Linked DNA regions of Homo sapiens: regions 1, 2, 4 and 5 are each linked to region 3. The links are contacts of gene promoters, found by promoter capture Hi-C in blood cells and fetal thymus (Javierre and others, 2016). All regions are on one chromosome and are shown on one strand. Each heading gives the region's core, a stretch centred on a gene start or on the middle of the fragment in contact. The rest is flanking DNA. Distances are from core to core; before and after follow the strand shown.

What was found. The method cuts DNA at HindIII sites, captures the fragments that hold promoters and counts their contacts. A CHiCAGO score of 5 or more calls a contact.
Region 1: a contact is called between the fragment with the promoter of HABP4 here and the fragment with the promoter of AOPEP in region 3, in 1 of 17 cell types (naive CD4 T cells). The highest score is 7.1, in naive CD4 T cells.
Region 2: a fragment that was not itself captured here is called in contact with the fragment with the promoter of AOPEP in region 3 in 4 of 17 cell types (naive CD4 T cells, naive CD8 T cells, fetal thymus and 1 more); the score reaches 7.9 in naive CD4 T cells.
Region 4: a contact is called between the fragment with the promoter of ZNF367 here and the fragment with the promoter of AOPEP in region 3, in 2 of 17 cell types (monocytes and activated CD4 T cells). The highest score is 6.5, in monocytes.
Region 5: a fragment that was not itself captured here is called in contact with the fragment with the promoter of AOPEP in region 3 in 2 of 17 cell types (total B cells and naive B cells); the score reaches 5.4 in total B cells.

What each region holds. Positions count from the first base shown.
Region 1 is chr9:96,448,720-96,454,102 of GRCh38, forward strand. It overlaps HABP4 (hyaluronan binding protein 4), which reads left to right and starts at 1,450. Exons shown (of 8, transcript NM_014282.4): 1 at 1,450-1,909. The coding sequence starts at 1,561. RefSeq lists an enhancer at 868-947 and silencers at 1,228-1,767, 1,778-1,837, 1,918-1,967. The HindIII fragment of the contact is 2,057 bases long and covers 1,133-3,189 here.
Region 2 is chr9:96,214,909-96,219,746 of GRCh38, forward strand. No RefSeq gene overlaps it. Among named protein-coding and RNA genes, the nearest start is that of HSD17B3-AS1, 29 kb to the right of the region's middle. RefSeq lists an enhancer at 3,101-3,320 and a silencer at 3,331-3,540. The HindIII fragment of the contact is 2,439 bases long and covers 2,308-4,746 here.
Region 3 is chr9:94,723,649-94,729,009 of GRCh38, forward strand. It overlaps AOPEP (aminopeptidase O (putative)), which reads left to right and starts at 3,051. Exons shown (of 17, transcript NM_001193329.3): 1 at 3,051-3,103. RefSeq lists enhancers at 2,663-2,832, 2,778-3,320, 2,843-3,322. The HindIII fragment of the contact is 1,744 bases long and covers 2,813-4,556 here.
Region 4 is chr9:96,415,367-96,420,956 of GRCh38, forward strand. ZNF367 (zinc finger protein 367) reads right to left here and starts at 3,004. Exons shown (of 5, transcript NM_153695.4): 1 at 2,247-3,004. The coding sequence starts at 2,666. RefSeq lists enhancers at 1,571-1,810, 3,285-3,818, 3,819-4,352, 4,869-5,590 and silencers at 2,171-2,410, 2,711-2,850, 2,961-3,620, 3,881-4,150. The HindIII fragment of the contact is 11,520 bases long and covers 1-5,590 here.
Region 5 is chr9:95,870,011-95,874,853 of GRCh38, forward strand. All of the region lies in intron 1 of ERCC6L2-AS1 (ERCC6L2 antisense RNA 1), which reads right to left. Among named protein-coding and RNA genes, the nearest start is that of ERCC6L2, 3.3 kb to the right of the region's middle. The HindIII fragment of the contact is 2,592 bases long and covers 975-3,566 here.

The sequences.
Region 1 (5,383 bases), core at 200-2,699, 1.7 Mb after region 3:
CTTTCTCTATCCTGCTCTGCCATCCTCATGGCCACGCTAAGGAACAGCCACCCGAGGCATCATGTCTTCTCATGGAACAAAGACCAGGGAACAGAAGGGGGGGAGATCCCTTCTCAATCCCTTGTTAGGTGCAAGAAAAACTTTCCCAGAATACTTCTCAGATCTGTTCTGCCCGATTTGCCCCACAGCCTATTCCTAAGCCAATTACTGGCAAGGAATTGGAATCAGGTGCAATGAATAATGTATGATTAATCAAGTTTGAGGCTGGAAGGGGCCCTCTTCCCCTGGGGAATATGATGCCTGAACAAAATACAGGCTCTGGAAAAATGTAAGAGGGAAAGAACGGCTGTAGGATAGGCAGCCAAGCGTGTCTCCACCGCTGCCTATGCAAAGATTTCCTGGAGGAAGTCCAGTCCGGCGTTCTCTAAGCTCCAGGCCTCAACTGAATATCTCAAAAGAAAACAAATATCCAAACCTCAACGTGTCCCAGACTGAATTAATGATTCCCGTTAAAGTAGTGTCTTCCAGTGGTAACTAATACTATCATTCAGATGCTGGAGCCAGGAAAATAAGAGTCACCGTATCTTCTTCTCCCTCATCACCACCTCTAGCGCATCACCAAGTCTTTGAATCCATCTACTCTCTTCGCCTCCACCGCCACCATCCTAATCCCAGTCACTATCAACTCTTCCCTGGAGCTTTGCAACAATCATGTTTGGCTTCCCAGCATCCATTTGTATTTCCCTCCAAACTATTAGTTCACAGTGCAGGTAGGGTGGCCTTTTCAAACCCAAATCTGCTCATGCTCAAAACTTGCTTCCCACTGCTCTTAGAATAGAGACCACTTTGAGCTTGAATAGGCTGTGCACATCCCACCTCAAGACTGCTGCACTTGCTGTTCCTCCTCCAACCCCTTGTCACCCCTCTCCCTCGGCTTAACTGTCATTTCCCAATTAGGTCAGATCCCTTTGCTGCAGCCCGTAGAGAGCTCTGCGCCTGTCCTTCAGGGCACTTTTTCTCCATCTACAGACTCAGATCTGTGACAACACGGAGCTAGTATTTCCTACAACATAATGCCTGGCACACGGTAAGTGCGCAATATGTAGCTGTTGCACGGCTAAATGTATACATAAGCTTCAAAGCAGAGTGGCCCATAGCAAATACGGTCGCAGTCCCGGGAGAAAGCACACACAGCCGAGACCCCACCGCTTCGTCGGCGCCGCCTGGACCAGCCAGTAGCTCCGCCCCTGGGCCCCGCCCCTCCCTGCTGAGCGAACGGGGCGGGGCCCAGAGGTCGCGTGACGTGACAGCAGCCGGTCGGTGATTGGGTCTCCAGGCGCGCCGTGTCGGAAAGGGGGCGCACCCGCGCGCGCTGACTGGCTGTCTGGCGCAGCGGGGCGGACGGCGGCGGCGCCGCGGGGGCGGGCGCCGGTAGGGGCCGGACAGGGTAGGGCCCGGAGGGCGGTGGCGGCGGAGCGGGCGGCATGGGTCCTGGCCGCCGGCTTCGCTGAGACGCGCTCGCGTGGGCTGCCCTCCCGGGCCCGCAGTGGTCGCGGCGGCATGAAGGGCGCTCTGGGGAGTCCCGTGGCTGCCGCTGGCGCCGCGATGCAGGAGAGTTTCGGCTGCGTGGTGGCCAACCGCTTCCATCAGCTGCTGGACGACGAGTCGGACCCGTTCGACATCCTGCGCGAGGCCGAGCGCCGGCGCCAGCAGCAGCTGCAGCGCAAGAGGCGCGACGAGGCGGCGGCGGCGGCCGGGGCCGGTCCCCGCGGCGGCAGGAGCCCAGCCGGGGCCTCGGGCCACAGAGCCGGCGCGGGCGGCCGGAGGGAGTCGCAGAAGGAGCGCAAGAGCCTCCCGGCGCCCGTCGCTCAGCGGCCCGATAGCCCCGGGGGCGGCCTGCAGGCGCCGGGTACGCGGGGACAGCGGGGTTAGCGGACCACGGCTCGGCCCGCTGTGAGACTGGGGTCCCGGGGGCCGGTTTCAGGAGGAGGGGCCCGGGAACAGTAGGGAGAGTTGAGGGTCCTGGTGGCCGCCGAAGGTAGGAGGAGAGGGGCAGGGGTCACACCCCTTCCAGCTCTCGCCAGCCTCGTGCGGGGCTCCGGGGGAAACGCTGGCTTGGGGTGGGATAGGGCCCTCGAACCCTGGCACTGAGGCTCTACGGCAAGTTGGACGAAGTTGAGGGAGGTTGTCTGGGTGGCGTGTGGGGGCGAACGGCTGAGGTCGCTACCCCGGGGCTCCCACATCCAGACCTGGCGGGGACCTTCATCTTCCAGCCCAGCCTCTGCAAGATTGAGGTCGGAGCCACCCGAGAGCGCGGTGGGGAGGAGGAGGGCGCCTGGTCCCGGGGCTGGGGGCCTCTGTGATGCCGGAGGCCTGGGCGACCGCGGGGCGGCCTGTGACGTCGGGGCCCGGGCGGGGGTCCCCGGCGCGGTCCGGCCTGGCGCCTTCGCCCCTTCTCCGTCCGGTAGCTTCCAGGAGGCAGCCGGCATCGTATTTCAGTACTTCGTGTGGTGTTGATGGGATGTGCAACTTATAAATAGCTCAAGGCTGCTTTAAGAAAAGCGTTTTTAACCTTTCCAGCAAGAATATTCGGAGTTCCCCACTCCCTATTTAGCAAGAAAAACCGGTGCGCAGCGTGGTGTCCTGCTGCCTGTGGACGGGGAGGGTGCTTCAGAGTTCATTCTCTCACCGAACTGCGTCAGTGGCAGAGCCAGCAACACTCCACCTGTGTTTCCTGTTTTCTTGAAATGAGGCAGCGGTCCCAAGGTTTGCAGAGTGTTAGGATTAAGATGTGTAGGTTGACCATTCCTGCCGACGTTTGCCAGTGTGTTCAACTTGGCTTTATTGGTTTGTTCCTTGCTTGATAAAAATTGTGCATCGCAGCCCTGAGGAAACGTCTCAGGTTTAAGTATTAGGGCTTTGATGTGCAGCTGGGTAATGTTTACCTTTATTTGTGAAAAGCTAAATCCAGAGTCATCACTTGAGAATCAAGTCACTACAATAAAGATGTTGAAAATGATTTTTAAAAAAATGTTATTTACTATCTCACGACACTTTGGTAGGCCAGTAAATTTCTGAGCCTATCTAAACAGTGAGACTGGAGATACATTGTGCATTTTATATCCTGTTTTTTATCTTTTTCTCTTAAACTTATTTACATCAATATAATAAAGGAATTGAGGAAGGCTAAGCTTTTCTTCACCCTTTATTTTTTAACAAATGAAAATGCCGGGTGTGGTGGCTCACGCCTGTAATCCCAGCAGTTTGGGAGTCCGAGGCGGGCGGATCACGAGGTTAGGAGATCGAGACCATCCTGGCTAACACGGTGAAATCCCGTCTCTATTACAAATACAAAAAATTAGTCGGGCGTGGTGGCGGGCACCTGTAGGTCCAGCTACTCGGGAGGCTGAGGCAGGAGAATGGCGTGAACCCAGGAGGCGGAGCTTGCAGTGAGCCGAGATCGAGCCACTGTACTCCAGTCTGGGAGAAAGAGCGAGACTCCGTCACAAAAAAAAAAAAAAAAAAATTCTGTGCTTCAGAAAAACGTGAGACGAGTTAGTGCTGTTAATACATTGATTTTTAGCCTTTTTAAAATTGTCATGCATTTTTGTGTTAAGAATTTTAAGCAATTCCAAAATGTATGAGGTTAAGTGAAAATCCTCTTATTTTTCCTACTAACACTTTGCATTTATATACATAAATGCACAGAGCTATTTCTTTTCTTTCTAAACTTAAATGATATAAACTGGGTTGCAACCTGTTTCCTGCACTTGATGTTGTCATGTAGTACACTCGTAACTTTTTTTTTCTGTCAGTTGTTAGGTCTAAGTGATCTGGCTTTTGAAATCAACTAAAGGTATTTAGTTGATTTTGTAGTTAGAACGGAAATTTTATCATTCAAGTTCTTTTTCAAGTATGTGTTATTTCAGGAGCAAACAGCTCATTAATTTCCATTTATGTAGTTACTGTACTAAATTTATCTATAATGGGTGTCAAGGAGCTATTCTCTCAAGGTTTTGTAACCCTAGTTGATAAGAAGCACTGTACTTTTCTAACATTCAAAATTTTTTATCTAGTTAGAATGTTGTAAGTGAATGCTTAGTGTAGACAAAAATAAAACATGTTTGACATATCATAGAAATGTTAATCCTGAAAGAATGTGGAAGTCACAAGCTTTTCCTATGGAAAAGGGTTTTTTTTTTTTTTTTTTTTTTTTTTTGAGACAGAGTCTTTTTTTTTGAGACAGGCTGGAGTGCAGTGGCATGATCTCGGTTCACTGCAACCTCTACCTCCTGGGTTCAAGCGATTCTCCTGCCTCAGCCTCCTTAGTAGCTGGCATTACAGGCATCTGCCACCATGCCCGGCTAATTTTTTTTTTTTTTTTTTTTTTGAGACAGAGTGCAGTGGCGGGATCTTGACTCACTGCAACCTCTGCCTCCCCGGTTCAAGCGATTCTCCTGCCTCAGCCTCCTGGGTAGCTGGGACTACAGGCATGCGCCACCATGCCCAGCTAATTTTTGTATATTTTTTAGTAGAGGCATGGGTTCACTATGTTCATGTTGGCCAGGATGGTCTCGATCTCTTGACCTCATGATCTGCTTGCCTTGGCCTCCCAAAGTGCTGGGATTACAGGTGTGAGCTACTGTGCCTGGCCTAATTTTTTATATTTTTAATAGAGATGGGGTTTCACCATGTTGTCCAGGCTGGTCTTGAACTCCTGACCTCAGGTGATCCGCCCGCCTCAGCCTCCCAAAGTGCTGGGATTACAGGCGTGAGCCATGATGCCTGGCCAAAAATGTAGGTTTTTAATGTCTGACTATCTGTCTAGCAATATGTATATAAACCCTTGGGTGAGCCTTGCTCAATAAGTTCATTCTTAAAGTCATGAGAGGCCGTTTCAGTTTTGCTTTTCCTAGCCTTTCAGAATTATGTTCTTTGAAACAAAGGTCAATTTTATTTTGTGGAAAATCTTACTGTAAATTTTATTGTATTCTGTTTCTTTACCTGGGCTTGGTTTAGATGATGATGAATGCATGTGCCAGCCTTTTCTTGGCGAGGTTAGTGAAATGCAGTGCTTGCATTCTCCACTTGGAGCTGCTGATCCAGCACAGAAAAACAAGCCCAATTCATGGCAGTGTTGATCTCTTAGTACTAAATTGTGGGGAAAAAATTGGATGCTGATTATCTTTGTTTTGGGAGAGTTGGGAAGGAGAACGAGATGTTTGCCCAAAACTGATCATTATTCTAATTATCTTTGTTTTGGGGGGTTTGGGAGGGAAAATGAAATGTTTGCTTGATATTGATAATTATTCTAATAAGTAGCCAATTGTATTTAACAGTTTTCAGTTTTATACTGTTGGAAAAGGCTTTAATATGGTGTACA
Region 2 (4,838 bases), core at 2,277-4,776, 1.5 Mb after region 3:
AAAAGCTGCACCCGCATAGCAGCCCTCTCTGTGTTAGCAGCCAAACATACGAAACATCAAGCTGTGAATTTCGTTAAAAGCACTGCAGGTGGATAGTGGCCTCCCGGGGCAGAGGTAAGTGCAGATGTTCTCCAAGAACACCCCCTCACTCCAAGCCTCAGAGAGACCCCACAAATAACCTTCTAAGGCTAGGGAGTGACCCTGTGAAAAATAAAGCACACAAGGAAAAAGGCATCATGAGTGGGAAGCGGCAGAAACCAAGTCAGGGTACCAGGCTTTAGTTTGAAGCGTATGGACTTTATTACAGGGGAGCCCTGTGGACCGTATCTGACCACGCTGAGATCTAAGAACATTTTAGCCAAAAGGAGAACAGCATTAGAAGAGGGGATTGTCACCAGTGTGCAGGCTCACACCTCCGACTGACAGATGGCATAATTCCCTGGAATTTAAAGTTCCTGGAAAAGCAGAGGATGCAGTGTGGTTGATCTTCTGCTTCTCTTTCCGCGGCTGTTTTCACCCTCCTCTGCCTCATGAAAGAAGCTGACTGCACTCTGTACCTTCCCCGCTGCCATGACCCTTCCACTATGCTCTGGATAACCAGCTCACCTCCATGTGTTACAGAGCCCACTCAGCCTATTCTCCAGACAGGATCTGGAGGGTGCCCTCAAAATTAATCCGTCTGCAGTCCATTCCATCCACAGGAAAGCATTTCCTGCTCATCTGGCCAGTTTGGCTAATGGTGATTAAAAACCATTTTCATCTGCTTCACCTGCTGTTATCACCTGCTTCAAGATCTTGAGACTCTTGTAAATAACCATTTTCGACTTCAGTAACCATCTCCATGACCCCATGAGATCCAGCTCATAAGTCCTCCATTGCTTTCACTCGTACAGCACTTGGGTCACCAGCACTTGAGTTAGGGTCCATGGACTATGTTCAGTGTCCCACCTGTACCCCAGAACTCTGGGTTCCCTCGGCCATTTCTGCACCTCTGGCCTGAGAGCTTTCCCCCAGAACCTCAGAGGTCACTCTCACCATATGCCTGCAGGTGGCAGGAAGGCCTGAGGAACTGACACACACTGAGCACCTCCACTAGCAGCCCTGAATCAACTACTCTTAAGACTTGGTGTATACATACCCCAGCTCCCTTGCCTCTTGGGTTAGATAATTCTGAGAGGCGAGTTTCCCTGAGTTCCCATGGGATGGGGCTCCTTAGCACTTACCTTCCCTCCTTCCTCTCAGGCTTGTCCAGGAGGATGGGCAGGAGGCACTGAGCTCCCTGGTGGCCTTTGTGAGCACAAGGTCAACCCCAGACCCTTCCTTAGTTCCCAAGTGACTAGAGCCCGGACCTTCTGGGTGGCTGCCTTAATTTTCCCCTTGTCCTCCTGGAAGGAGGCCCCAGGATGTTGAATTCTGGAGGAGCTAAAAGGCTCCACTTAAAACTTCTCCCTCCTCCCTGGGCTAGACCTAAAAATTCTATTAGAATCACACCTCTGTTTCAGACAGAATCTCCACAGCACCCCCAGAGGAATGGGACAGGGGATGGGAGAGGTCGCGTGAGGCTTATCAGCCACAGGAACACGTCCTTCCAGCAGGGTTAGAGGATCCCAAAGAGAGCAGAGACTCCAGGGAAAAGAAGAAGAGCACGGAGTCAGCATGGAGACAGTGCTTATCTGCAGGCGGGGAGCCAGGAGGGATTCTTTGCCCTTCTTGACTATACTTTTCAAATTCTCTAAAATGTTTCAGAAATAAGATAATCACAAAGTCTGCAAGTATCCCCCCACAAGGTATAATCACTTTACAGTGGAGAACACAGCAGACATCACCTAACCAAGTGATAAAGGTGACATCTCCAGGAACGGCTGCTCCCTGGCAGAGGCAGGGGTGGGGGGTGCACCAGGAAGAACCCAGCACCGCCCCTGGGATTCCGAACAGTCTGATCCTGAGGGAACGTCAGACAAGCCCAAGTTCAGGGACTTCCTACAAGATAACTGGTCCATATGCTCAAAAATTGTCCAAGTCATGAAAAAATGAAGAAAATCTGAGAAAGTGTTCCAGATTAGAGGAGACTAAAGAGACGCAATAACTAACCCAAGGTGTGATTCAGCAAAGGCCCATTCATGGGCCTCGGGGAAATATGATGAGGGTCTGTGGAGGATAACACAACTATATCAATGTTAATTTCCTGATTCAGTCACAAGCCTGTGGTTATTTTGAGGGGAAATATAAACCAAGGCATTTATAGGGCATCAATGTGGGTGAAGGGTGCATGTGAACTCTTTGCATAATTTTTAAACTGCTTTTAGAAGCTTCAAATTATTTCAAAATAAAAAGTTAGAAAAGAAAAATGGCCATTAACTTTATAATCAGAAAAAAAAATGTTTTAGGACAAAAATATGTCTCTGGTCATAGCCTGTGCTGTGAATCCATGGAGTAGATTCTTGCTGTCAGCAAAGTTCCCAACAGCTGGAGAAGAACAAGGAACAAAAGCCGAGCTGCCCTCCTGAGCTCCCAGGGTCCCAGACACAAAGCTGGCCTCTCAGGCTTTACTGAAAGATAAGTGCTGATAAGGCCTGCGGGTCATCTTCGTCTACGCGGGCCCCCCAGCTCGCTGAGAGGGGCCCGCCCTTCCAGAGCTCAGCCAGACATAAGCCAGAGCAGAGCGTGTTTCTTTTCAGCTGAAAGCTGCAGCTGGTGCATCCACCCTGGGTATGAGCAGACTCGCAGCAGGGTGCCCACCAGAGTGGGGACCTGCAGATGCCCCTGCCCAGAGACGCCGGGAGGCCACAGCCCAGGTCTTCCGGATGGAGACAGAACTTCAGCATTCCGTTTGGATCAGTCCAGAAGAAAAAAAAAAAAAAAAAAAAAAAACAAGCAAAATCTCACTATCACTGCTACTAAAACAAGATAAGCTACAAAAACAACTAATGCAACTACTGGCTTACACCCAAGTCTCACCAAGTTCCCCATAATAACCAAATTCCCCGTAAGAACGGCCACAAGGGTGACCACACTGACTAGTTGTCCTAGCCTGGTTGACCACACTGACTAGTTGTCCCAGCGAAGTGTTGCTGGAAACATTGTCAAGGTAAGGTTTGTGCCTGGTCCCTCTTGAGGCCAGGGCTGGAGGTGGGCCCCTCCGTGCGAGCTGGCCGACTGGCAGACCTGGTTGCATCTGGGCAAAAAAAGGCCATCATCGCCATAGATGCTGGAAGCTGCTCTCTCGCCCACTTTAACTGTGGGGGCCTCGGCCCCCCGTTTTTTAACTACTGGAAGACGTAGCCCTGAGTCCAACCTCTTCCACGCCTGGCGACGCTGCTAAGAACGCGGAGCAGGGCTGGAGGGCTCAGCGCCGGCGGGCTCAGCGCCGGTGGGGGCAGGGCGCGGGTCCGGGAGCGGGCGCGGAGGCACGGAGCCACACTGCCCCCTGGCGGCCATCCCCTGCCCCGCCGGCACCGCCTCCGTGAGGCGGAAGGTTGAATGTCACCACTGCGTTGCTGAATTCCGGCTCAAGATTATTAGTGCGGGGGCATCGGGTCCATCCAGGGGAGGAGAACGTTCCTAATGCGGAGTCACAAGCCCTACCTTTAAGGTCTGGCTCTGGAACTCTGGGCAAGTTGCTTAAATTCTCTGTTCTCAGCTGCGAAAGGAGGAAAATAATTAAAGCCTGTGTTGTAAAGACCTCACTAGGCAATGTGTGCTCTACAGGCTTTCCCTGCCCCTGACGCAAAGACACACGCACAGAAAGCAAGATCATGAGGGATAGATTTTTTTTTTTTTTTTTGACAGAGTCTCGCTCTGTCGCCAGGCTGGAGTGCAGTGGCTCGATCTTGGCTCACTGCAACCTCCACCTCCTGGGTTCAAGCGGGTCTCCTGCCTCAGCCTCCCGAGTAGCTGGGACTACAGGCGCTCACCACCACGCCTGGCTAATTTTTGTATTTTTAATAGAGATGAGGTTTCACCATGTTGGCCGGGCTGGTCTCGATTTCTTGACCTCGTGATCCTCCCGCTTCGGCCTCCCAAAGTGGTTGGATAGGCTTCAGCCACCACGCCCGACCGAGGGTTAGATTTTAACCCAAACACTGTCCCTTCTAATGTTCTCCGCTGCCGCCCAGTGCAGCTCCCAACGCTGACCCGGGTTTCTGGGGTGGAAGCAGCAGAGGCGCCCCCACCCCCACTCCCGCGCTCCACCGAGCCGGAGGGCAGCCCAGGGGCAGCAGCCCCACAGTGGGGCCTGAACAGCGTCCGCGGACCCGACCCGCGCTGCGGCCGCGCTGCCCCGCTCCTCTGGGCGCCTCCCCGAGGGCCTCGCTCGTCTGACCCGCAGTACTCTCCGCCCTGCTCCTCGTGCCTTTGGTGGGCGCGTGGCTTCCGGCCTGCGGAGGCTGTGCCTCCTCGCCAAGGAGCCGTTCACAGCCGCGCGTTCGAAAACCCAGCCGCCGGCCGCGCGTCCTGGAGAAGGGGCACGGTCAACTCGCACGCCCTAAGGGCCGGGCCACCGGGGTCACTGCCCGGCCTGCGGGGGCCGTGCCTGGGGCGTAGGAGCAGCGCTCCTCCGCAGGCGCTATGCATGCCTGCGCCCTCCTGCAGGATGGGCCACGAGCCCAACTGCCAGGCGATCGGCCGAGACCCAGAAGGGTGAGAGGGGGAAGCCGCACCCTCTTCGTGGGTGCGATGCTGTGAACGTCTTCCTTCAAGGAAAGAGCTGCTTCTGGATTTTCCTTGAACTCCAGGAGGTGCTAAGAAAGCTTCGTGACTGTGGCAGATGCGGCTCAGCGGCCCCTCCCAACCCGCCCGCGCCAGTTGGGAAAGTGACTCCCCCGCTCCCCGCCAGTTGG
Region 3 (5,361 bases), core at 1,801-4,300:
ATAAATACTGATTGGACTGTGGGATGACAAAGAGGGACAAGTCTAGGATGATCTTGGATTTCAGGCTTGGGTGACTGGGTGGATATTGATGCTATTAACTCAGACAAAAATACATGAGTAGGTCAGGTTTGGAGGTGGGGACAGAGGACGAGTTCAGGTTTTTAAATGCTAGCCCGATGTTTAAGTGGAATCTGGATATTTGAATAAGTTTTTTTTTTTTTTTTTTTTTTTTTTTTGAGACAGAGTCTCGCCCTGTAGCCCAGGCTGGAATGCAATGGCATGATCTCAGCTTACTGCAACCTCCGTCTCCCAGGTTCAAACCATTCTCCTGCCTCAGCCTCCCAAGTAGCTGGGATTACAGGTGCATGCCACCACGCCCAGCTAATTTTTGTATTTTTAGTAGAGACGGGGTTTCACCATGTTGGCCAGGATGGTCTCGAACTCCTGACCTCAGGTGATCCTCCCGCCTTGGCCTCCCAAAGCATTGGGATTACAGGCATGAGCCACCGCACCCGGCCTGAATAAGAAATTTTTAAACAGGTCTGAATGGAAAGATAGACTTGGGAATTGTCAGCTTACAAACTTACAGGTGGTAGTCACCTGACAAGAGACAAAGTCACCACCCTGGGAAAATACACATCAAGGAGGCAAAGTTTGTGCAGGCCTGCAGGCCTCATATGGACAGCAGATGTGTTTTGTTTGGTCCAAAACAGAAGTTTAATAAAATGTGAATTAGTGAGCAATGTTTAAAATTTGTGAGATTTCATGTAAATATCTGTATATCGATTGGTGTTTTTTTTTCTTTTTCTTTTTTTTTTTTTGAGATGGAGTCTCACTTTGTCACCCAGGCTGGAGCACAGTGGCGTGATGTTGACTCACTGCAACCTCTGCCTCCTGGGTTCAAGCGATTCTCTTGCCTCAGCCTCCTGGGTAGCTGGGATTACAGGCACCCACCACCACGCCCGGCTAATTTTTGTATTTTTAGTAGAGACAGGGTTTCACCTTATTGGTCAGGCTGGTCTTGAACTCCTGACCTTGTGATCTGCCCGCCTCAGTCTCCCAAAGTTCTAGGATTACAGGCGTGAGTCACCATACCCGGCCCTCGATTATCTTTTAAGCAGGGGATCTGACATCACCGGGTCAGCATTCCTGGTTGGCAAAAATCAACAGAGCTGTGGTAGGGACCACGAGCTCCAGATCACCACAGTCTCTATCCCTGGGCTTCACTCCTTTGTGTTAACTGCCCGGCTGCTGTAGGCTTTGGGGTTTGCAGCCTCTGATGGAGCCTAAGAAAGCCAAGGGAAAAAAGAGCTCAGGAAAAGGGAAAGTGGAAGCCAGTGATAGAAACTGAGGAAAGATAGGTGACAGGAGAACCTAGAGGACTGACTTGGAAACAAGCAAAGAAATCAAGTTTGAAAGGAGGTGAAACAAACCTTGTTTTAGCTATATGATCCAGCTATTTGCTTAGGCCCCAAATTTAAGAATTATTTTTGACACTTTTCTTTTCCTTATCTCCCTTATCTAAACTCATCTCCAAGTCTGTCACATCTACCTCAGAATTATTCCTGAAATTTGTCCATTTCTATCATTTCTTACCTGCTCATTGCAAAAGCAACTCTTCTCTTTGCATCCTTTTAAATTGTTTCTCAAAAGTTTCATGTATACACAGCAGCTAGCAGGGTGATGTTATAAAACTAGATCCTGTCACTTACGTGTTGATAACTCTTCACTAGTTTCCCCTTACACTTCGAATAAACTCGTATTCCTCACAGGAACCCAGAGAGTCTGTGCATGATGGGGACTCTCCTTGCCTTCTTGATCTCATCCTCTGTTCTTCCCATGACCTACTTTCTCACTTTCTCCAAGGCACCACATTCTGCCCCTTCCCTATTGCTTGCTCACATGTAGATTCTTCTCTTGGCTGTTCTTTCCTTAGCTCTCCACAGAGTTGGCTGCTTCTCAGTTTACTGAACCTCTTCAGAGGGCACTTTCTTGACATCTCAAATCAAAAGGTCACCTGTCTTCCTTTAATTTCTCAGCAACTTATTTTCCTTCTACTTTTTTTTTTTTTTTTGAGATGGAGTCTCGCTGTCGCCCAGGTTGGAGTGCAGTGGCGCGATCTCGGCTCACTGCAGGCTCCGCCCCCCGGGGTTCCCGCCATTCTCCTGCCTCAGCCTCCCGAGTAGCTGGGACTACAGGCGCCCACCACCTCGCCCGGCTAATTTTTTGTATTTTTAGTAGAGACGGGGTTTCACCGTGTTAGCCAGGATGGTCTCGATCTCCTGACTTTGTGATCCGCCTGCCTCGGCCTCCCAAAGTGCTGGGATTACAAGCGTGAGCCACCGCGCCCGGCCTTTCCTTCTACATTTAATGTTTGCTTTCTCAACTAGAAAGTAATCCCCATGAGGGAAGGCACAGCGTCTGTCTTGTTCCTGGTTGTTTCCCCAGCTTTTGTTAAGGGTGCTTGCCTGGCACACAGGAGGACCTTAAATTGTGGTGGAATTAATATGTGAACAATAGTCACATGCAGCAGAGGTGAGACTAGGCTAAGGAATAAAATTGCACATCTGTATTTCAGTAACTTTTTTTAAATTTTATTTGAAACAGGGTCTTGCTCTGTGGCTCAGGGTGGAGTGTAGTGGCACGTTCATAGCTCATTGCAGCCTCGAACTCCTGGACCTAAGCAATCCTCCTGCCTCAGCCTCCATAGTAGCTGGACCACAGGTGCACGCCACCACACTCGGCTAATTTTTTAATTTTTTTGTAGAGACGGGGCCTCCCCAGGTTGCCCAGGCTGGTGATTTTTTTCTTAAGCTTCATAAAGATTTTGCAATTAGGAATACTAGGGTACCAGGGCAACTCTACAAGCCCTAGCCAGCCAAGCTGCTCGCGCCCTCCTATGACCGCGGCAGCTCCGCGCCTGCGCAGATCTCCCCCGGGCGGTCTCGCCCTCTCATCCTAAGGGGGCGGGCCTAGCGGAAGGCGGGTCAGGCAGAATGCGGCCCCGGGCGCGTGTGGATGACGTCACCCGGCGCGTGCCGGGGTAGCCCGTAGTAACCCCGAGTCTGCGGAAGTGGTGACCCGTGGGACGCGGCTGAGACAGGTAACCTGTTCGCTCCCTGTTGGGTCCCTGCCTTCCTCTCCTCCGGCGTCGGGATGGCGGCGGGGACAGCATCATTCCGTTCTGAAGGCGACGGGGAACCCTCCCTTACCCTCACTTTTGCTCGACCAGCGAGGACCCGCATCCCCTCCTCAGTTCTCCCAGACTCCTGGGGCTGAAACCCATCCTGGGGACTGGGCGGAGCGGTCACATCTTACCACCTCAGCTGTAGAGGTGGCCACGGGCTCTGGCTGTCTTCTCCCCGGCGGCACAGACCTTTCTCAGCCTCTGGGTGCCTCCTCCTTCGTCTCTTGCCTCCAGGCCCTCGGTCACCTGCCGGTCTCGGCTTCTAGCCCCACAGGGCTCATCTCCAGTCTTAAGTAGGCAGAACAGTTTCGATTCGATTCATTTCCACTTGCAGTGAAACCCATCCGCCTCTTCTTCCCCCGGAGGATCTTTACTGAGAGCACCACATTTTGAGTTTTGGGGTCCCTATAGAACATTCATACTGTTAGTCTGGAGTTTTGTTCATGAACGCATGCATGGGCGGGGAGGGGGTGGCACAGTAATGTGATTATGATTATCTATTGTGATAATAAAATATCCACTTAGGATCCAATCCACTGTTGAGATGCATGGAACAGTTAATAGCATTGCATAAAATGCCCCTTGTACCTGATTTCTTTTTGGTTTTCGTGCAATGATGACAATTACCCTTGCAAAGGTAGCCCTCAAAATAAGTAACATAACCCGCTAGGGATGTTTAGATCGCAAAAAAACAACAATAAGGTTCATATGGTTGATAAAGAAATAATATGGGTTATTACAAAACCAGACAGAATAGATGCTGAGTATATGGGACGAGAAGCAGAATTCTGAAATCCTTGATCTCATTGATTGTTTGGTTTTGTATTTTTAAAATACTTTTAGTCTGTTCCATTTTTGAATAGTGTATATTGTGCTTCGTATAAGTCTGGGAAGCCTTCCAATGACTTGCTAATTGGGAAGATTAGATTCTTCCAATATTTGGGGGACAAAGTAGAATAAGGTTAGGGTATAATAATAGTTGCTTACTGTTGGCCCATCTGCTTTATCCCAGGTACTGTGTTCAACACTTTGCATATGTTTTCTCCTTACTTCATACAACCACCTCGTGAGTTAGGAATTATTACCCCCAATTTATAGAGAAGGAAATTGAGTTTCGGTTATATGAAATTGACTTGCTAAAAATTCACAGTTAACTAAATGGCAAAATCAAGATTTAAATTCAGGTCTGAATATAACTTCAAAGCCTGCACTTTTCTTAAAGGACTCTACTAATGCTCAAATTTTAGGCTTTTTACAATAGTTGCACACAATTTTATGAGTTTGTTCACCTACACAAATGATTTAACACTTTTTAATATCTTTAATACTGTGTTAAGTTCCCATATTCCTGGAGTTAAAACACCTGGAAAGCTTAATTTGTGATCCTTCCTGCGTGCGCGCATGCACACACACACACACACACACACACACACACACCATCCTTATTTTTAAGAATGAGATAAATGGCAAACAAGATTGTGCAGTAAAACCCTGCTGTTTGGAGTCCTCAGGGAATGGGTAATTTTACAGTTGAGAGCTTAATACTTCTTTAGAAATGAAAATTTTATTGACTCTTTGAGATGGAAATTTTAAAAATGTACTACACAATTTCTTGCCTTCTTAAACACTCAGGATGCCGAGTAGATTTTTGACCTCACTGTGCCCGGTCGAGGACAGTTCTTCTAAGGAATTTGGCTGTGAGGAGATAAAGAAGAGTTAGAGGGAGATGTGGACTTAAGGGAGGGTTTTGTTCATTTGTGGGTTTTTCCTGTAAGAAGAGACTGGAACATTCACATTTGTGAGGTGGAAAGGGCTTGGAAACAGGAAGATGCTGAGGTCAAGGATTTAGAGGGCTGGATGATTGATGAAGCAAGGTCCCAGAGGCCACCAAAAGACGATCTCCAGAGCAGAGGCCACCTTCAGGCTATGCGGGGCACGAGGGACACTTCTTCCACTCTCCTGGGAGGGATGGGGAGAAGGGTGGGCACAGACGTGAGTGAGTGTGTGGGATGAGGAAGAAATGTGTGGAAGTTCTTGTGTGATGGAGCAAAAGTTCTTAAGTGCAGCAGGTGAATTTGCTGACATTGCGTTGATTTGTTGGGATAGGGATTGAGGAAAGTTGGTAGAAGTTTAGAATAATCACTGAGGGAAAAGGACAGGGTTTGATGGGGAGA
Region 4 (5,590 bases), core at 1,754-4,253, 1.7 Mb after region 3:
ATACCGATCCATCTTACATCTCACTAGGGGATACCTAGAGGCAGCCCAACAGCAACTGTAGCCTTTAGTAATACTCAGCAATACTATCAACGCTTCTATCGTTAGTTTCTTCATTTTTTTTTTTTTTTTTTTTTTTTTTTTTTTTTTTTGAGACGGAGTCTCACTCTGTCCCCCAGGCTGGAGTGCAATGGCGCAATCTCGGCTCACTGCAACCGCCGCCTCCCGAGTTCTACCAATTCTCCTGCCTTAGCCTCCCAAGTAGCTGGGATTACGGGCGCCCGCCACCACGTCCGGCGAATTTTTATATTTTTAGTAGAGACAGGGTTTCACCATGTTGGTCAGGCTGGTCTCGAACTCCTGGACCTCAGGTGATCCACCCGCCTCAGCCTCCCAAAGTGCTGGGATTACAGGCGTGAGCCACCGCACCTGGCAAGTTTCTTCAATTTTTGTTAAAGAGTTGAGGTCTTGCTTTGTCACCCAGACTGAAGTGCAGTGGTGCTATCATGTCTCACTGTAGCCTCAAACTCCTGGTCTCAAGTGATCCTCCTGCCTCAGCCTCCCATGTAGCTACGTATATAGGTGCAGGCCGCCAGATGCGGTCTATGTTGCCCAGGCTGGTCTTGAACTCCTGGTCTCAAGTGATTCCCCAGCCTCAGCCTCCTGAAGGGATCACAGGCATGAGCCACCTCACCAGGCTCTGTTATGGTTTTTTTTTTTGTTGTTTTTTTTTTTTTTTTTTGAGACGGATTCTCGCTCTTTTGCACAGGCTGGAGCGCAGTGGCCTGATTTCAGTTCCCTGCAAGCTCCGCCTCCCGCTTCACGCCATTCTCCTACCTCAGCCTCCCGAGTAGCTGGGACTACAGGCGCCCACCACCAAGCCCGGCTAATTTTTTGTATTTTGAGTAAAGACGGGGTTTCACCGTGTTAGCCAGGATGGTCTTGATCTCCTGACCTCGTGATCCGCCCGCCTCTGCCTCGCAAAGTTCTGGGATTACAGGCGTGAGCCACCGCACCCGGCCCAGGTTCTGTTCTTTCAAATGTTTACTGAGGTGCAGTTTCAAGAGCTGAAGTGTATAAAAACCTATAGTTTTATAACCTTATAATTATTTAATAATAATGCCACATAAAATATATCAATTTCCTCAAAACCCAAACAATGTAGTTTCAACATCCTTGTGACTGCATGTAAAATGATCAAACTCGTTTCAACTTATACATTATGTGCTGATACAGATGCAGTTATCCACTATGTGATTTACTTGTTATCTCTTGCAAATTGCTTATCTTATACAGCCACTTAACAAATGGAACCTGGATATTACCCTTCTGTTAGCACCATTCATTCATTACACAAATATTTTTTGAGCACCTTTATTGAGCATTTACAGAATGTAAGGTAGTAAAGTCATATAGTCTTCTAGATAGAAATACTCCTGGCTCACCTGGAGCTTACAGTCTACAGAGTTCAGTATAAGTCAGCAGAAAGTCACCCCAAACACATGCAGGACTAAAAGCCACAAAACCTCGACCTAGTCCCCGCTCTTCCACTACTGAGCTGTGCCATCGTGGGAAGGTCGCCTCACTAATCACTGTAAGCCCCAGCTGCCTGATCTGTAAAATAGGTTTGAACCAGTGGTAACGACCTTCCCAGCTTTAAGCAGTCGGAGACTGCAAGCAATTTTAGCGTCCCATTCCACTATGTGCTCTCAACACCTAGCAAGTAGTATGCTGGATAAATGAAAGGCAGCGAAGGCACAACTTCAGCCGCAGAACAGGCCCAGAAGTCCTTTCTTGCTCTTCGGCTGTCTCTGCAGGGCATCTTTTAACAGGGCGAGGGCGATCTGCAGTAATGGAGCAAACACTGTGCGCTCCCTGCCCTCTCGCAGTCGGTGGAACAACTCAAGGCCCTCATCCCTCTCGTTTCCTCTCGGAACTGAGGACTCGGCAGCCCGCCGGGAGGATGTCAGTGGCCGTTGACCCGGCCTCCCCAGCGACCCCGGGCCGCGCTCCCGCCCACTGCACCTGCCGCAAGGACGGTCTCCCGCGCCGCTCCCGCCTGTCACGTGACAGGCCCCCCCCGACTGGGGCCGGTTTTTGGCGCGCGGCAGTGACGTCAGCATCCTGTCAGCCGCAGCCCCCGCCGTAGCCGGATCGACCTCGCGTTTTCAACTCCGCCCCGCCCGCCGCACCGTTAACGGGCCCCGGCTGCCCCACGTCCCGCCCGCCCGCCCGCCCGCGCCGCTCACCTTGAGGTGGCCGCTGTCTGGGCTGCTCGCTTCCTCCTCGTCCTCACCTCCCGAGGCGGCGGCGGAGGCCGAGGCGGCGGGCGGGGGCGCGCCCCGGCCACGAAGCCCCGAGTGCTCGGCGGCTGCGGCTGCAGGCAGGGCGGCCGAGGCGGCGGCCCCCGCGGCCCCAGGGCTGAGCGTCACGTTGTGTGCGTTCTCGCCCCAGCGCCACGGGTACACCATGAAGTCGCTGAAGCCGGGGCTGGTGGGGATGAGCGGCGGCGGCGGCTCCGGCTCCCCTCCACCGCCGCACGTTGGCTTGATCGGGGTCGTCCTGATGACCGACACCAGCACCCGCTTCGGGGAGTCGTGGCAGAAGATGACGGGCGGCGGCGGCGGCGGCGGGTTCTCCGCCATGGGCGCCTCGAAGCCCCGGATCATCGCCCGGCCCGACCCCCAGCTCCGGCGGCCCCGGGCCGCACTCCTGAGCACCGCTCTGCCCCTCACTCGCTCTGCTCCGAGTCGCAGGCTCAGTCCTGCCGGCTCATGGCAGACTGACGTTTCCCGGAATCCTGCGCAGCAGCCACCTAACTAGTTGAGCAGACGGCACCGGCGGGCAGGGCTGGACCCCAGCCCCAGGTCAAGCGCGCCCTCCGCTCTTTGTACTCCGCAGCGCAGGCTGCAGGGGTGGGAAGCAGCGGGCGGCCCGGCCCTTGCGGTGACAGGAAAGCAGGACGCGCGGCGCTGAGCCCCCAAAAATAACAACCTGCCGCCGCGGTGCCTGCCCCGGCTTTTCCCGCGTTACATTTCGCGCCTGGGCGGAACCAGTCACCGCGAGGCCGCTGCCCGCTGGCCGCACCGGCGAGTGACAGGCGGCGCGAGCCAATGGCCAGGCCTGGCCTTCTTTCCAGCCGGCCGGGGCGGGGCCGGGTCTGCGCGCGGGTCCTTCCCACCTCGCCATTGGCCGCCGCTCTTATATTTTTTTCTGTCTGGAGGGCCAACAGCGTTCGAAACTCCAGTGGAGCGCGCGGCGTCTCCACTCGCCCGGACACACCCGCCTGCCGCCCCGCCCCGCCGTCCCTCCGCGTGGTTAGTCCGGGCCAGGGAGACAAGGGCGGCGGGGAGGGCGGCAAGAGGGCGGCTGATTGGACAGCGGCGGGGCGGGGTCGGGGGGGGTGGTGATCGTTGGGCGGTGGAGGCGCGCGCCCCGCTCGGCCCCGCCCGCCGTTGGTTGTTGGGCCGCGGTTCCCGCGCGCAGGGAGTTTAAAGGGCTGGGGCCCCGCCGCCCGCCCCGCCCTCGGTCCCACCACCCGCCCGGCGGCTGGAGTCTCTGCTGCCCGAGGTCCTGATGGGCACCCGGCGTGCCTGGTTTCTTAATCGAGTTCCGTCTGCTCAGCTGTTGCACGCTCTGTGAACCAGCCCTGTCAGCACCGCCCTGACTCCTCCGGGCCGATTGTGGGCCTCCGGTTCCCCATCTGTGGAAAGGGGAGAGTCCAGGAAGTGGCCTCCGAAGTCCCTGCGGGCCGCTCGCGGCGCGGAGGCCACAAGAGCCGGGCGAGAGTAGACACTCTCACCCTGGACTGATGCCCCGAAGTTGCCTCGGGGATCTCCCCACCCCGGCGACCCCGCTCTACCGAGCGGCTGCTCCGGGAGTCGGGGCAGCGCCCTACTTTGCTCGGCCCCCACCTGCCCCGGCCGCGTCCTAGTACTCGCGCCGGGACGCGCGGAGCCCCAACGTCCTCTGCCCGCCCCGCCCCAGCCCCGCCTGGCTGGCGCCGACCGCGGCCCGGGTGGGGCTCGCAGGCTGCAGAGGAAGGACCGGGCGGAGGGGTTGCCCGGCTTCCTACCCGCTAGATGTGGCCTGGGGAGCTGCGTTTTGTTCTTGGGAATACAGATTCCCAGGCACCGCCTGATTCGCGGTAGGGGCTCAATAAATATTTGCTGAATGGATGAATGAATATCCATTGGTTAAGGGTTAGGATTGGTAATTAAGTTAGAACACGACTGTATAATAACAGATAACTAAGCTGAATAGCTTTTCTCTCTGTGAAAGACACACAAATGCACAGCTATGACTAAATTAAGCCACAATTGTTTAAAAACAAATAAAGGAAACTGTACTGATATGAACAATTTCAAAAATGTATTTTTATTTTAAAAGGCAAAACAAGCAATAGTGTGATTTTATGTAAAATTGTTAAAGTGGGGAAAATACGTTTTTACTTTTAGACGTACATAAAATATCTGGCAAGATGCAAAAGAAACATGGATCATGGAGGGAAATTGTGTGGCTGGGAACAGAAGTGAAAAGATTTCAAGAAATACAATATATAACTATCTTTTGAACTTTGAACCAAGTGAAAGTATCCTTTTAAGAAATGAAACAGTATATAGCCTCCATTTTCTGGAGGCCTACTACAAAAATAGCATATATGTACTGATACACAATAATACATATGGATGTTTCACAGTTCACTCAACAATTGGGTAAGGAAGATATTTTTCCCATTTTATAAATGAGAAAAGTTGAGGCTTGTACAAGATTACATAATAAATCCTTTGGAAGAATAAGTCTGTACTGCCTGTGGATTATATTCAGTGTCTGCTGAGCAAAAGGAGGAAAAGGCTGAAAAATGGGACTCACACATTTCTCGGTCCCGTTTCTCATATTCCAAAACTTTCAGGGTTTAGGGGCAAATTTCATATTGTAATGGTTGATCTAGAAAGTTGAAAGTTCAGCCCTACTTTCACCTAATTTAGTAAACATACATTTTGTTTTTACAGTTTAATACCAAAAAACATATTTTTCTGAATCAGTTGGAAGGGAAATGTTATCCATCTGTTTTATACTTGACAAGTAGTGTAAAGAAAAAAGTGATCTATCCATCATGGACACTCGAATTAGGGGTTGAGCAAAATCCAACAGATTAATCACCAACAAATAGTTACTGTTTAACATTCAGAGCATGCCCCAGAGGGCAAGATGAATCATCCAGCACAGGATGCTGACTTTCTGCTTCTAAAAATTGCCCTTCATCAACAGTAACCTGGCAACTCCACTTGCTCTCTTCCCCAAGAGAATGAAAGACATGCCAGGAATGTGTGAACTGGGCAGAAGGTGATTCCAGGAGCAAAGCTGAGGTCATACCAGATCTTTGCTTGTTTGGCTCCATTTTCATGCAATGAAGAAGCTGTCTGAAGTGTATGGATCATATTCCTGATGTCTTTGTTCTGTCTCAGATATTAACAGCCCATAATGTCAGAGGCCTGTGAACCAGAGCAACTCCATTTTAAAAAGGAGCTGGGTAAAATGAGGCTGAAACCTACTGGGCTGCATTCCCAGACGGTTAAGGCATTCTAAGTCA
Region 5 (4,843 bases), core at 1,021-3,520, 1.1 Mb after region 3:
AATCTTTTCAAAGAATCAACTTTTGGCTTCGTTGATAATTTCTATTGTATTTTTTAAAATTACTCTTTAACTTCTGTTTATTTTTTCCTTTTATTCTAGTTTCTTTAGGATTAGCTTGTTGTCCTTTTTTAAAGTTGGAAGCACAATTAATTTTCAGCTTTTCTTCTTTTTCAATATGAGCATTTTTTACACTTTAGCAATTTCCCACAAACTTTGATATGCAGTATGATTATTCAGTTCTAATGGATGTTGAAACACCAGGACTCAGGGGATGAAATATGAATATAAGTTCATTTATTGGAACAATACTCATTCAAACCCACTTTGAGAACCATTTTTTTCTTCATATTCTTGAAAGGCAACTAGGAAAAGTCTCATGATTCTTCTAGTCTCTCTTGATAATAAAAAAATCCTGGGGTCACTTCTAGCCACTAAAAAGAGACAAACAAAAAGTCAGTTTGGTAAAGTCCATGTAATAAAAAAAATTAAGACTTCAACACTTGTTTAACCTTAAAGACTTCCCCTTTCAGAGCTCACACTTGGTACAGGCAAGTGGTTGGCAGGGGAAAATGTGGGGGTGATTGCTTCTTTTATATGATTTATGCCTCACCTTCCTCTCCTACTTTCTAAGCTGCTTCCAACTTCTTTAGGGATGATTCGGAAAAAGAGACAAAAACAAGGAACAAGGGCCAGGCCAGGATGTGCATGCTTCTTTCTAGCAACCTAGATACAGTTAACCAGGCACTACATTATGCTATTATCTTGGCTTGGAGTTTCTTAGGTAACGCAGATTGTATACATTCAAATCCTAAATTTGAGGGCATAGCTGTGGTTTCAAAATTTCAGAGGGAATTAAGAATACCCCTTCAAAAATCCCATGCCAAGGCAGACAAATCCCTCTTCATCCTCCTTCTTTTCTGCTATCCAGACTTTTTTCTTCTAGCTCACCATTTCACTAAGGATGTTACCTTTCAAGCTTTCTGATTTCAAATGGGAGGCTCAGTTTCAATGTGGGAACTTGTGGGAGCTTAAGACCATGTCTTCTGCTCCCACAAGCCTGTGAAAATTCAGACCTTTTTGTAACTGAGCCAGACAAATGTGTCCAGGAAAGGAGTGGTATAAGTGCCATCTTAATAACTAGTTTTCAGTTCCTTCCTTATTTTTGATCTATGAGTATTTCACGTACTTCTTGAAAGCTCAGCTATGCATTGAGATTTTTTTATTTTTAAAATTTTATAGATTCAGAGGGTACAGTACAGGTTTGTTACATGGGTATATTGCATAATGGTGAGGTTTGCACTTCTAGTGTACCTGTCACTCAGAGTGAAAGTTGTTCCCAACAGATAATTTTTCAACCCTCACCTCTCTCCCATCCTACCCACTTTTGGAGTCCTCTGTGTCTATTATTTCCTTCTGCATGTCCATATGTATCTATTAGTTAGCGCCCACTTTTAAGTGAAAACACGTGGTATTTGATTTTCTGTTTCTGAGTCATTTCACTTAGGATAATGGCCTCCAGCTCCATCCATGTTGCTGCAAAAGACCTGATTTTATTCTTTTTTTTTTTATGGCTGCAATATATTCCATGGTGTTTATATACCACATTTTCTTTATCCAGTCATCTCTTGATAGACACTTAGATCGATTCCATGACGTTGTTATTGTGAACTTTACTGTGGTAACATACAAGTGTGGGTGTCTTTTCAATATAATGATTTATTTTCCTTTGGGTACTCAGTAGTGGGATTCGTGCATCAAATGGTAATTCTACTTTTAGTTCTTTGAGAAATCTCCATACTGTTTTCCATAGAGGTTGTACTAATTTACATTCCCATCAACAGTGTATAAGCATTCGCTTTTATATTTTGAGAGTTTTTATAAACATGTTTCAACCAGTATTTCTTGGTGTTTTGTTGCAGGATTTTTATACTTATCTGACATGAGGTATTAAATGTTCTATTATTTGAGTCTATTTATTGAGTCTATGAAGTAAAAATGGTGTTGGTGAATATTCAAGGTGTAATGATATTCATTATATGGGACCATGATATACTTCTAACACTGACTCTATATATCTTTCACTATACCTCATTCAAGCCTCAAATTTTCCTTTCTTTGGCCGGAGCTTTTTTGTTGTGTTTTGCTTTTTAAACTGTGATAAGAAAGAACATATTATATAAAATGTACCTTCTTAACCATTTTTAAGTGTACGGTTTAATAGTGTTAAGTATGTTCACACTGTTGTGCAACGTTGAGTTTTAAACTTTAAGATTTAGGTTATTTGTGGCAAGGAAGGACAGGTCTATTTTATCTTCTTTCTCTTGCCTTCACTCATCTTTGCTTCCTTATTGGCTGGAACGACGTATGAAGGGAGAAATGCTGCAACCTAAAATCATCTAACTAAAACTCAAAAGACTTAATTTCTTGTGTTGTCTTAGAGTTTCATATCTATTTTTTTCTGGAGCCTTTTTGCTAGATTAACTCACAATTCTGGAGATCTGTCAACCACATACAGATATATATTTGACTTTTGCAGTGTGAAGATAAAGAGAGACTATTTTTTGGCAAATTATTGGTGGGTTTAATCATCCTTCCATGAGCCTGTTTTGAAATGCCTGTGTTATCACCATCTGTGTTATTTTTTTCTCTTTTGTAGTTTTAATTGGCTTAATTTTTGCTAGATCCTCCTTTGCCAAAAGTTTTGTATGTGATTCAGTTCATTCATGTGATTTATCCAACATCACACATATTAACTACAGGAATTCCTTAATATTTTACAAGATATTCAGTTTAACTTTGAAGTGACTGGTCTGACAGCGTTAGATGTTCACAATATCAGCACCTAGACAAGGATGTCAATGCAAAGACAAAAGCTACTGGGGGAAGGAATATTTGAGAATGTCTAACTTTATGAGGCAACTAGTTCACTAGGACATATTTTCATGTCATGATTATTTCTGCTTCAGTATACACTGTAAGTACAGCAGTGAGGTTAAATAATAAACACTCAGAAAATGAGGGCCGGGCGCGGTGGCTCACGCCTGTAATCCCAGCACTTTGGGAGGCCGAGGCGGGCGGATCACGAGGTCAGGAGATCGAGACCATCCCGGCTAAAACGGTGAAACCCCGTCTCTACTAAAAATACAAAAAATTAGCCGGGCGTAGTGGCGGGCGCCTGTAGTCCCAGCTACTTGGGAGGCTGAGGCAGGAGAATGGCGTGAACCCGGGAGGCGGAGCTTGCAGTGAGCCGAGATCCCGCCACTGCACTCCAGCCTGGGCGACAGAGCGAGACTCCGTCTCAAAAAAAAAAAAAAAAAAAAGAAAATGAGGTATCCTCCTCTTTTGTTAGTCACAAGGGTATTCCTTCAACCAGATGATACCTCCCATTTAAATCAAAATTTATTTCTGAATTTGCTTATCACTTCTATTAAGAGGTCTGCTCTGTCAAGAGCTACATCTTAACTCAATGGACCTCTGGAAAAATAAGACAAAATTACACAACTAGTCATTTCAGAGAGGGGAAAAAAATCAAACTTCTTCCCTGGTAGTTGTAGGGGAAAAAAAGAAGCTTGATTAAAATTTCAATTTGCCATTTTGATTTTAGAGACAATGTGAAAAGAGATATAATCCATCAATAACAAGCAGCAGATTTTTCTAGATTTTAAGATTTCCAATATCAGGGTGCATGTCAGAATCAAGAATTACAATTATAATTAGTAGTGTTTTTCGCTGTGTCGCCAGATTAGAGTGCGGTGGCGCAAACTCGGCTCACTGCAACCTCTATAGACCTCCCGGGTTCAAGCGATTCTCCTGCCTCAGCCTCCTGAGTAGCTGGGACTACAGGCATGTGCCACTACGCCCAGCTAATTTTTGTATTTTTATTAGAGACGGGGTTTCACCATATTGGCCAGGATGGTCTTGATCTCTTGACCTCATGATCCGCTCACCTTGGCCTCCCAGAGTGCTGGGATTACAGGCATGAGCCAACCGCGCCCGGCCTATTAGCCAAAATATTAAACTGACATAATGGCTATGTAGAATGCAACTTTCAAGTGGATGCATTCCATTGATAATAATAGTAATAACAACACATATATTCCTTACTATGACCAGCTACTGTTTTAGGAGTTTTACTTAATTATCTAATTTTTTACAATTACCATTTTTAGGTAGTTTACTATTATTAGCTTCACTGTAATGGTGATAGGTGAGTACAATAAAACACGGAGAAGTGATCTGGCCAACAACTCACACATAGATGGCTGAGTTAGATGTTTCACTTAGGCTTAAAGTTATTGCCTGCTGGTAAGCAAACAAGTCATATTTTAAATGAAGCATTTTATGAACACATACTACTAGTTTTTAGTATCTGCCATAGAATTGAGATCTATTTGCAAACAGCCATATTGTTTTCTTAAGACACTACTGTAGGCAGAATAATGATCCCCCAAAGATGTTTATCTCCTAATTTCCGGAATTCGTGAATATATTAGCTTACATGGCAAAAGGATTCTGCTGATGTGATCAAGGGCAGAGACCTGGAAATGGGAAGATGATCCTGGATTACTCAGGTGAGCCCTCAGAATCTTTTCCAGCTGCAATCAGCGGTAGACTTGAGGATGGAAGGTTCAGAGAGATGGCATATCACTGGCTTTGAAGATGGAGGAAGGGACCAAAGCCAAGGAATGTGGACAGAAGCTGGCAAAGGCAAGCTAAGGATTGTCCTGTGGAGTCACCAGAAAGGAGTGCAGCCCGGGTGACACCCAGGTAGCACTTCTGATCTACAGAACCGTGAGATAATAAATGCATTGTCTGTCAGATGATAAATTTGTGCTGTTTCAAG